Linked DNA regions of Homo sapiens: region 1 is linked to region 2. Evidence: promoter capture Hi-C in 16 types of primary human blood cells and fetal thymus (Javierre and others, 2016). All regions are on one chromosome and are shown on one strand. The core of a region is centred on a gene start or on the middle of the fragment in contact, and the rest is flanking DNA. Distances in the headings are between cores, read along the strand shown.

The links. The method cuts DNA at HindIII sites, captures the fragments that hold promoters and counts their contacts. A CHiCAGO score of 5 or more calls a contact.
Region 1: the fragment with the promoter of LINC00665 here is called in contact with the fragment with the promoter of ZNF382 in region 2 in 14 of 17 cell types (fetal thymus, total B cells, naive CD8 T cells and 11 more); the score reaches 17.5 in fetal thymus.

What each region holds. Positions count from the first base shown.
Region 1 is chr19:36,328,912-36,333,260 of GRCh38, reverse strand. It overlaps LINC00665 (long intergenic non-protein coding RNA 665), which reads left to right and starts at 1,543. Exons shown (of 6, transcript NR_038279.1): 1 at 1,543-1,814; 2 at 2,769-3,008. The HindIII fragment of the contact is 13,687 bases long and covers 1,306-4,349 here.
Region 2 is chr19:36,603,526-36,607,844 of GRCh38, reverse strand. ZNF382 (zinc finger protein 382) reads right to left here and starts at 2,532. Exons shown (of 5, transcript NM_032825.5): 1 at 2,498-2,532; 2 at 223-293. It also overlaps a transcript of ZNF529 not described here. RefSeq lists enhancers at 2,081-2,140, 3,121-3,260 and a silencer at 2,501-2,560. The HindIII fragment of the contact is 5,073 bases long and covers 1-4,161 here.

The sequences.
Region 1 (4,349 bases), core at 294-2,793, 270 kb after region 2:
TGCCATCTTACCACACTCCTTCCCCTTCCCCCACAGCATGGCTGAACTAAGGGAGAGCAGAACCCTCATCTGTAAAAAATGCTTAAGGTTTCTTTTTCTTTCCCTCCCTCCCTCCCTTCCCTTCTGTGGGGAAAAGAGAGATCAGACTGTTACTGTGTCTATGTAGAAAGAAGTAGACATAAGAGATTCCATTTTGTTCTGTACTAAGAAAAATTCTTCTGCCTTGAGATGCTGTTAATCTGTAACCCTAGCCCCAACCCTGTGCTCACAGAGACATGTGCTGTGTTGACTCAAGGTTCAATGGATTTAGGGCTATGCTTTGTTAAAAAAGTGCTTGAAGATAATATGCTTGTTAAAAGTCATCACCATTCTCTAATCTCAAGTACCCAGGGACACAATACACTGCGGAAGGCCGCAGGGACCTCTGTCTAGGAAAGCCAGGTATTGTCCAAGATTTCTCCCCATGTGATAGCCTGAGATATGGCCTCATGGGAAGGGTAAGACCTGACTGTCCCCCAGCCCGACATCCCCCAGCCCGACACCCGAAAAGGGTCTGTGCTGAGGAGGATTAGTAAAAGAGGAAGGCCTCTTTGCAGTTGAGGTAAGAGGAAGGCATCTGTCTCCTGCTCGTCCCTGGGCAATAGAATGTCTTGGTGTAAAACCCGATTGTATGTTCTACTTACTGAGATAGGAGAAAACATCCTTAGGGCTGGAGGTGAGACACGCTGGCGGCAATACTGCTCTTTAATGCACCGAGATGTTTGTATAAGTGCACATCAAGGCACAGCACCTTTCCTTAAACTTATTTATGACACAGAGACCTTTGTTCACGTTTTCCTGCTGACCCTCTCCCCACTATTACCCTATTGGCCTGCCACATCCCCCTCTCCGAGATGGTAGAGATAATGATCAATAAATACTGAGGGAACTCAGAGACCAGTGTCCCTGTAGGTCCTCCGTGTGCTGAGCGCCGGTCCCTTGGGCTCACTTTTCTTTCTCTATACTTTGTCTCTGTGTCTCTTTCTTTTCTCAGTCTCTCGTTCCACCTGACGAGAAATACCCACAGGTGTGGAGGGGCAGGCCACCCCTTCAATAATTTACTAGCCTGTTCGCTGACAACAAGACTGGTGGTGCAGAAGGTTGGGTCTTGGTGTTCACCGGGTGGCAGGCATGGGCCAGGTGGGAGGGTCTCCAGCGCCTGGTGCAAATCTCCAAGAAAGTGCAGGAAACAGCACCAAGGGTGATTGTAAATTTTGATTTGGCGCGGCAGGTAGCCATTCCAGCGCAAAAATGCGCAGGAAAGCTTTTGCTGTGCTTGTAGGCAGGTAGGCCCCAAGCACTTCTTATTGGCTAATGTGGAGGGAACCTGCACATCCATTGGCTGAAATCTCCGTCTATTTGAGGCTGACTGAGCGCGTTCCTTTCTTCTGTGTTGCCTGGAAACGGACTGTCTGCCTAGTAACATCTGATCACGTTTCCCATTGGCCGCCGTTTCCGGAAGCCCGCCCTCCCATTTCCGGAAGCCTGGCGCAAGGTTGGTCTGCAGGTGGCCTCCAGGTGCAAAGTGGGAAGTGTGAGTCCTCAGTCTTGGGCTATTCGGCCACGTGCCTGCCGGACATGGGACGCTGGAGGGTCAGCAGCGTGGAGTCCTGGCCTTTTGCGTCCACGGGTGGGAAATTGGCCATTGCCACGGCGGGAACTGGGACTCAGGCTGCCCCCCGGCCGTTTCTCATCCGTCCACCGGACTCGTGGGCGCTCGCACTGGCGCTGATGTAGTTTCCTGACCTCTGACCCGTATTGTCTCCAGATTAAAGGTAAAAACGGGGCTTTTTCAGCCCACTCGGGTAAAACGCCTTTTGATTTCTAGGCAGGTGTTTTGTTGCACGCCTGGGAGGGAGTGACCCGCAGGTTGAGGTTTATTAAAATACATTCCTGGTTTATGTTATGTTTATAATAAAGCACCCCAACCTTTACAAAATCTCACTTTTTGCCAGTTGTATTATTTAGTGGACTGTCTCTGATAAGGACAGCCAGTTAAAATGGAATTTTGTTGTTGCTAATTAAACCAATTTTTAGTTTTGGTGTTTGTCCTAATAGCAACAACTTCTCAGGCTTTATAAAACCATATTTCTTGGGGGAAATTTCTGTGTAAGGCACAGCGAGTTAGTTTGGAATTGTTTTAAAGGAAGTAAGTTCCTGGTTTTGATATCTTAGTAGTGTAATGCCCAACCTGGTTTTTACTAACCCTGTTTTTAGACTCTCCCTTTCCTTAAATCACCTAGCCTTGTTTCCACCTGAATTGACTCTCCCTTAGCTAAGAGCGCCAGATGGACTCCATCTTGGCTCTTTCACTGGCAGCCCCTTCCTCAAGGACTTAACTTGTGCAAGCTGACTCCCAGCACATCCAAGAATGCAATTAACTGTTAAGATACTGTGGCAAGCTATATCCGCAGTTCCGAGGAATTCATCCGATTGATTATGCCCAAAAGCCCCGCGTCTATCACCTTGTAATAATCTTAAAGCCCCTGCACCTGGAACTATTAACTTTCCTGTAACCATTTATCCTTTTAACTTTTTTGCTTACTTTATTTCTGTAAAATTGTTTTAACTAGACCTCCCCTCCCCTTTCTAAACCAAAGTATAAAAGAAGATCTAGCCCCTTCTTCAGAGCGGAGAGAATTTTGAGCATTAGCCATCTCTTGGCGGCCAGCTAAATAAATGGACTTTTAATTTGTCTCAAAGTGTGGCGTTTTCTCTAACTCGCTCAGGTACGACATTTGGAGGCCCCAGCGAGAAACGTCACCGGGAGAAACGTCACCGGGCGAGAGCCGGGCCCGCTGTGTGCTCCCCCGGAAGGACAGCCAGCTTGTAGGGGGGAGTGCCACCTGAAAAAAAAATTTCCAGGTCCCCAAAGGGTGACCGTCTTCCGGAGGACAGCGGATCGACTACCATGTGGGTGCCCACAAAAATTCCACCTCTGAGTCCTCAACTGCTGACCCCGGGGTCAGGTAGGTCAGATTTGACTTTGGTTCTGGCAGAGGGAAGCGACCCTGATGAGGGTGTCCCTCTTTTGACTCTGCCCATTTCTCTAGGATGCTAGAGGGTAGAGCCCTGGTTTTCTGTTAGACGCCTCTGTGTCTCTGTCTGGGAGGGAAGTGGCCCTGACAGGGGCCATCCCTTGAGTCAGTCCACATCCCAGGATGCTGGGGGACTGAGTCCTGGTTTCTGGCAGACTGGTCTCTCTCTCTCTCTTTTTCTATCTCTAATCTTTCCTTGTTCAGGTTTCTTGGAGAATCTCTGGGAAAGAAAAAAGAAAAACTGTTATAAACTCTGTGTGAATGGTGAATGAATGGGGGAGGACAAGGGCTTGCGCTTGTCCTCCAGTTTGTAGCTCCACGGCGAAAGCTACGGAGTTCAAGTGGGCCCTCACCTGCGGTTCCGTGGCGACCTCATAAGGCTTAAGGCAGCATCCGGCATAGCTCGATCCGAGCCGGGGGTTTATACCGGCCTGTCAATGCTAAGAGGAGCCCAAGTCCCCTAAGGGGGAGCGGCCAGGCGGGCATCTGACTGATCCCATCACGGGACCCCCTCCCCTTGTTTGTCTAAAAAAAAAAAAAGAAGAAACTGTCATAACTGTTTACATGCCCTAGGGTCAACTGTTTGTTTTATGTTTATTGTTCTGTTCGGTGTCTATTGTCTTGTTTAGTGGTTGTCAAGGTTTTGCATGTCAGGACGTCGATATTGCCCAAGACGTCTGGGTAAGAACTTCTGCAAGGTCCTTAGTGCTGATTTTTTGTCACAGGAGGTTAAATTTCTCATCAATCATTTAGGCTGGCCACCACAGTCCTGTCTTTTCTGCCAGAAGCAAGTCAGGTGTTGTTACGGGAATGAGTGTAAAAAAACATTCGCCTGATTGGGATTTCTGGCACCATGATGGTTGTATTTAGATTGTCATACCCCACATCCAGGTTGATTGGACCTCCTCTAAACTAAACTGGTGGTGGGTTCAAAACAGCCACCCTGCAGATTTCCTTGCTCACCTCTTTGGTCATTCTGTAACTTTTCCTGTGCCCTTAAATAGCACACTGTGTAGGGAAACCTACCCTCGTACTGCTTTACTTCGTTTAGATTCTTACTCTGTTCCTCTGTGGCTACTCTCCCATCTTAAAAACGATCCAAGTGGTCCTTTTCCTCCTCCCTGCCCCCTACCCCACACATCTCGTTTTCCAGTGCGACAGCAAGTTCAGCGTCTCCAGGACTTGGCTCTGCTCTCACTCCTTGAACCCTTAAAAGAAAAAGCTGGGTTTGAGCTATTTGCCTTTGAGTCATGGAGACACAAAAGGTATTTA
Region 2 (4,319 bases), core at 1,283-3,782:
TGAGGCACCTAGAATGCAAAATTTAGGAGGGCACAGCCCTGAGGGTACCCCTTAAATATTTCACCTCATGCCACTTGCCTGCCTCAGCCTAATCTGGCCCTGACTGAAGACTAATTTCATGGAAGCAAATCCCAATATCAGGGAAGGTTAAAGGACAGTGAAGCTCATGTTCATACACCATGAAAAAAAGTTATTTCAGAAAGAGAGGAAACATCATCTCACCTGAGACATGGCTTTGAGATTTCTAGATGAACTTTCTCTTTTGAGCTCCTCTTTTGGAAAAAGAAACAGTCCTGAGAAAGCAAAGATGGAGGATATACGTATGTGAGACCATACTTGACTCAGAACTCCCAGAATTAACTCAGTTAAATCTGCATGAATGTTCACTATTTCAGCACTTGTCCACCCTGTGTACCCTTCAGATGTCCAGGATGGTAGTTAGTGGGAAAACAGACAAATCAGGCTCCCTCACAAACACCAGAAACCCAGTCTCTTGGTAAAGTATACAGGATTCTGGGGAACCTGTTTTAGCTTGAAGAGAGGGAACACTGTGTTTTTCCCTCTGCAGCTCTGCCTTCCATCTACCTCTAACCACAGGTTTACTGTGTATTTCCAAACGGTTCTTCTTGGACTTTTTGCCAATTTACACTGATAGTAGTGGATGAGAATACCTTCCCAAGCCCTGATGAAGACAGTTGACAACTTTTAAATCTTTGCCTATCTGGTCTATGTTGTAGTTGAGAATAATCTTTTTTTTTTTTTTTTTTGAGACAGAGTTTCACTCTTGTTGCCCAGGCTGGAGTGCAATGGTACAATCTTGACTGACCGCAACCTCCACCTCCCGGGTTCAAGCGATTCTCCTGCCTCAGCCTCCTGAGTAGCTGGGATTACAGGCATGCACCACCATGCCCGGCTAATTTTGTATTTTTAGTAGAGATGGGGTTTCTCCATGTTGGTCAGGCTGGTCTCGAATTCTCGATCTCAGGTGATCTGCCCACCTTGGCCTCCCAAAATGCTGGGATTACAGGCATCAGTCACTGCACCAGGCCCGCAAAATAACTATTTTAATTACTACAGTGAGACTGGACTTATTAAAAATCTATCAAATACTTTTTATTATCTTAGCAAGCCTAAGGGAGTAGGAAACCTCACTCATATACAAGTGTTGAAAGTGGTAGTTATGCCAGGCACAGTGGCTCACACCTGTAATCCCAGTACTTTGGCAGGCCGAGGGGGCGGGGGGAGGGGATCACTTGAGGTCAGGAGTTCAAGACCAGCCTGGGCAACATGGTGAAACCCCATCTCTACTAAAAATACAAAAACTAGCCGAGCGTGGTGGCACAAGCCTGTAGTCCCAGCTACTCAGGAAGCTGGGGCAGGAGAATCACTTGAACTTCAGAGGTAGAGGTGGCAGTGAGCAGAGATCATGCCACTACACTCCAGCCTGGGCAAAAGAGCAAGACCTTGTCTTAAAACAAACAAAAAACAACAACAAAAGTGGTAGTTATGGTAAAAAAAAAAAAAAAAAAAAAATTTCCTGCATGTCCCCAATGGAATGCTATTCATTTCAACATACTGGTTTTAGTTAATATGGTGTTTCCAGGAAATGAATCTGGGAATTATGAAAATCATCTCTTCCCCTCTGATACTGTTATCTCTATTTTATTTGCTAAATTGCTACTTAGTTACAGTTTTGGAGGCAGGCTTAATGGCTACTATTCAGATAATCAAGTCTTACATAACCAACTAGCCATGGTCATAACAGAGTTCCTCAATCATTCAAATATTTAGGTCACTAAGGCCACAAAACCACCAGAAGTAACAGTAGGTTACAAACACATGCAGAGTCACAGTCAATCAAACATCCTTCAGAGAACCACCAACCTACAGGCCCCACTTGTCATTCACAACCTCAGACAGCAGCTAACACGACTCCAGGCAGTCACAACCACACCTACAAATCACTTGCAATTCTCCACACTCAAAGGCAGTCTCAAATGCGACTCACACCTAATCTAAAAATAGACACACGCAGAGGAAACCTCGCGCAGCAACACTACTCCGTTCACTTTTCACACACAATCGGCCACAACATCCCAAAGAGAGGCAAGCACCTAAAATGCAGCAGGTTGGGCGCAGGAGGCCACCCCTATTCAGCGCGCGCCCGCGCGCGCGAACACACAGCGCCCGCTCCGCGCGGGGACCCGCCGCCAGCGATGGCGCTTCCGCGGGATCAGAACGGGCAAAATCCCCCTTCGCGGAGCTCGCTCCGGGTCACCCTCAAGGTCACGCCCATGGACCACGCCCGAGGCCCGGCTCGTACAGATCGGAGCGTCTGGATACCGCGGTCCCGGTTTCCTCCTCAGAATTTCCAGGCCCGGCTCGGACTCTTGGTTACCTCCCTGGCCTCCCCACCCGGTTCCGCGTCCTTAGACAGCTCTCCCGGAACGGAGCTCCCAGTGCCCTCCTTGGCCTCCTCAGCACCCCTGGCACCCACCAAGCCTCACCCCCGGCCCAGGGTGAGTCGTCTGCGCCTGCGCACTCGCGCGTGGGCCTGAGCTCCCAGGAGTCTCCGGGGCGGCCCGTTAGTCGCCGCGCGGTGCTAGCTGCCGGCGCTCCCCTCCGTTTGCACCCACGGCCGCCCTATTGCGGCTGGCACTACGCTTCTGCCAGGACCCCGGCTCCCTTTTCCGTTGACCTGGTGTTCGTTTTCCATGTGGTGAGTTGAGGTGACCCGGGTCTGGATGCGAGAAGAGCTCACGGCAGGGGACCTGGGTTCATGGGACGCGGAGAGGGTTTGTGGAGGCAGAAGCCCCAGGCCTGTGTGCAAGTCACCTGCTGGGGAGGGAGACTGTGTGATTGTGTTTGTGTGTGCCGTTCTGTGGCTGCGTCCGTGTGTGGTGGTGTGAGTGGGCGCGCCTGTGATGGTCCCGGGGGGGCGGGGGGTGTGCACAGCAGGGGGTGTGTGTGCACAGCAGGTGCACAGCCCGGGACAGCCCTGACTGTCCCCGATTGGGCCCGCGGGACTGAGTGGGGGCGGGGCCGTTTGTGTGACGGCGCTGAGCGGTGACTATGAATGTGTCATGCTGTTATCAGTGATCCTGTGACAGCGCTGTTGTGACCCACTGGAGACTGTGATCAAAACTGGCCTGGTGCAGCTTTTGTAGAGTTTGATTTCTGCAGTTCTGGGGCTCAGGAATACGTGGACAAGGTCCCCGTATGGCTCGATCTGTGTCTGTGAAGACTCTGAGACCTTCTGTTCTAAAGCATGGCCCCTGTCGCTTTCATAATGCATAATACACAGTGGCATGCAGCCTCGCCAACCTCTGGGGCCAATTTTAAGTTACGTGGTTTCTTGGAGTTTGTTATACTGGGATTTCTTTCACTGCCTCAGTCATTTCACCTTATAACCACGTTGCACAGTGTGCAGTCAAATGGCTATCGAAAAGAAAGTTGGATATTTGAGATCCAGAATGAAGTTTCCAACTGAAAAAGCACAGCCTTGTGTTTCACATGGACAAGGCTGTGTTCTGATATGCACAGCCTCGTGTTTGATATGGAGATGTTAGAGCTGGAATTGCTCCCAAGGCAAGGTTCTGGGAAGATATGATATTGAGGCCCCAGGAGTAGGATTCGTTTCTCCAAAGATTTTGTGTGTGTGTGTGAGATGGAGTTTTGCTCTTGTTGCCCAGGCTGGAGTGCAGTGGCGCAATCTCGGCTCATTGCAACCTCCGCCTTCCGGGTTCAAGCAATTCTCCTGCCTCAGCCTCCCGAGTAGCTGGGATTACAGGCATGCACCACCATGCCCGGCTCATTTTTGTATTTTTAGTAGAGACGGGGTTTCACCATGTTGGTCAGACTGGTCTCGAACTCCTGACCTCAGGTGATCCACCCGCCTCGGCTTCCCAAAGTGCTGGGATTACAGGCGTGAGCCACCGTGCCTAGCCAAAAGATCCCTTTTGGAAGCTCTGTGGGGGCAAGTTGAATATTGCAGATCCACAGCATTTTCATAGCTGTCTAAAGGAAATTATTGTGAATACAGAAACATTTCAGTCCCAGGCTTTGGTGAACCTGACTTTTCTTTATGAAGGGAAGAGTCAACAATATTCCAGTCTTTCTCATACTTCCATCTGGTCATATTCAGCATGGGTTATGGAAGCTTGCCGGTGGTGAAGAATGTGTTCTTATTTAGCCTGTCTGGGCTCCAAGAAAGGCTGAGTATATTGTGATTCCCTTTCTTTCCACATTTTGCTGTATTCCAAGAGAAGAGCTCTGAGAGAAGAAAAGCATTGTAGTTGCACATTTTAAAGCAAAGCTGG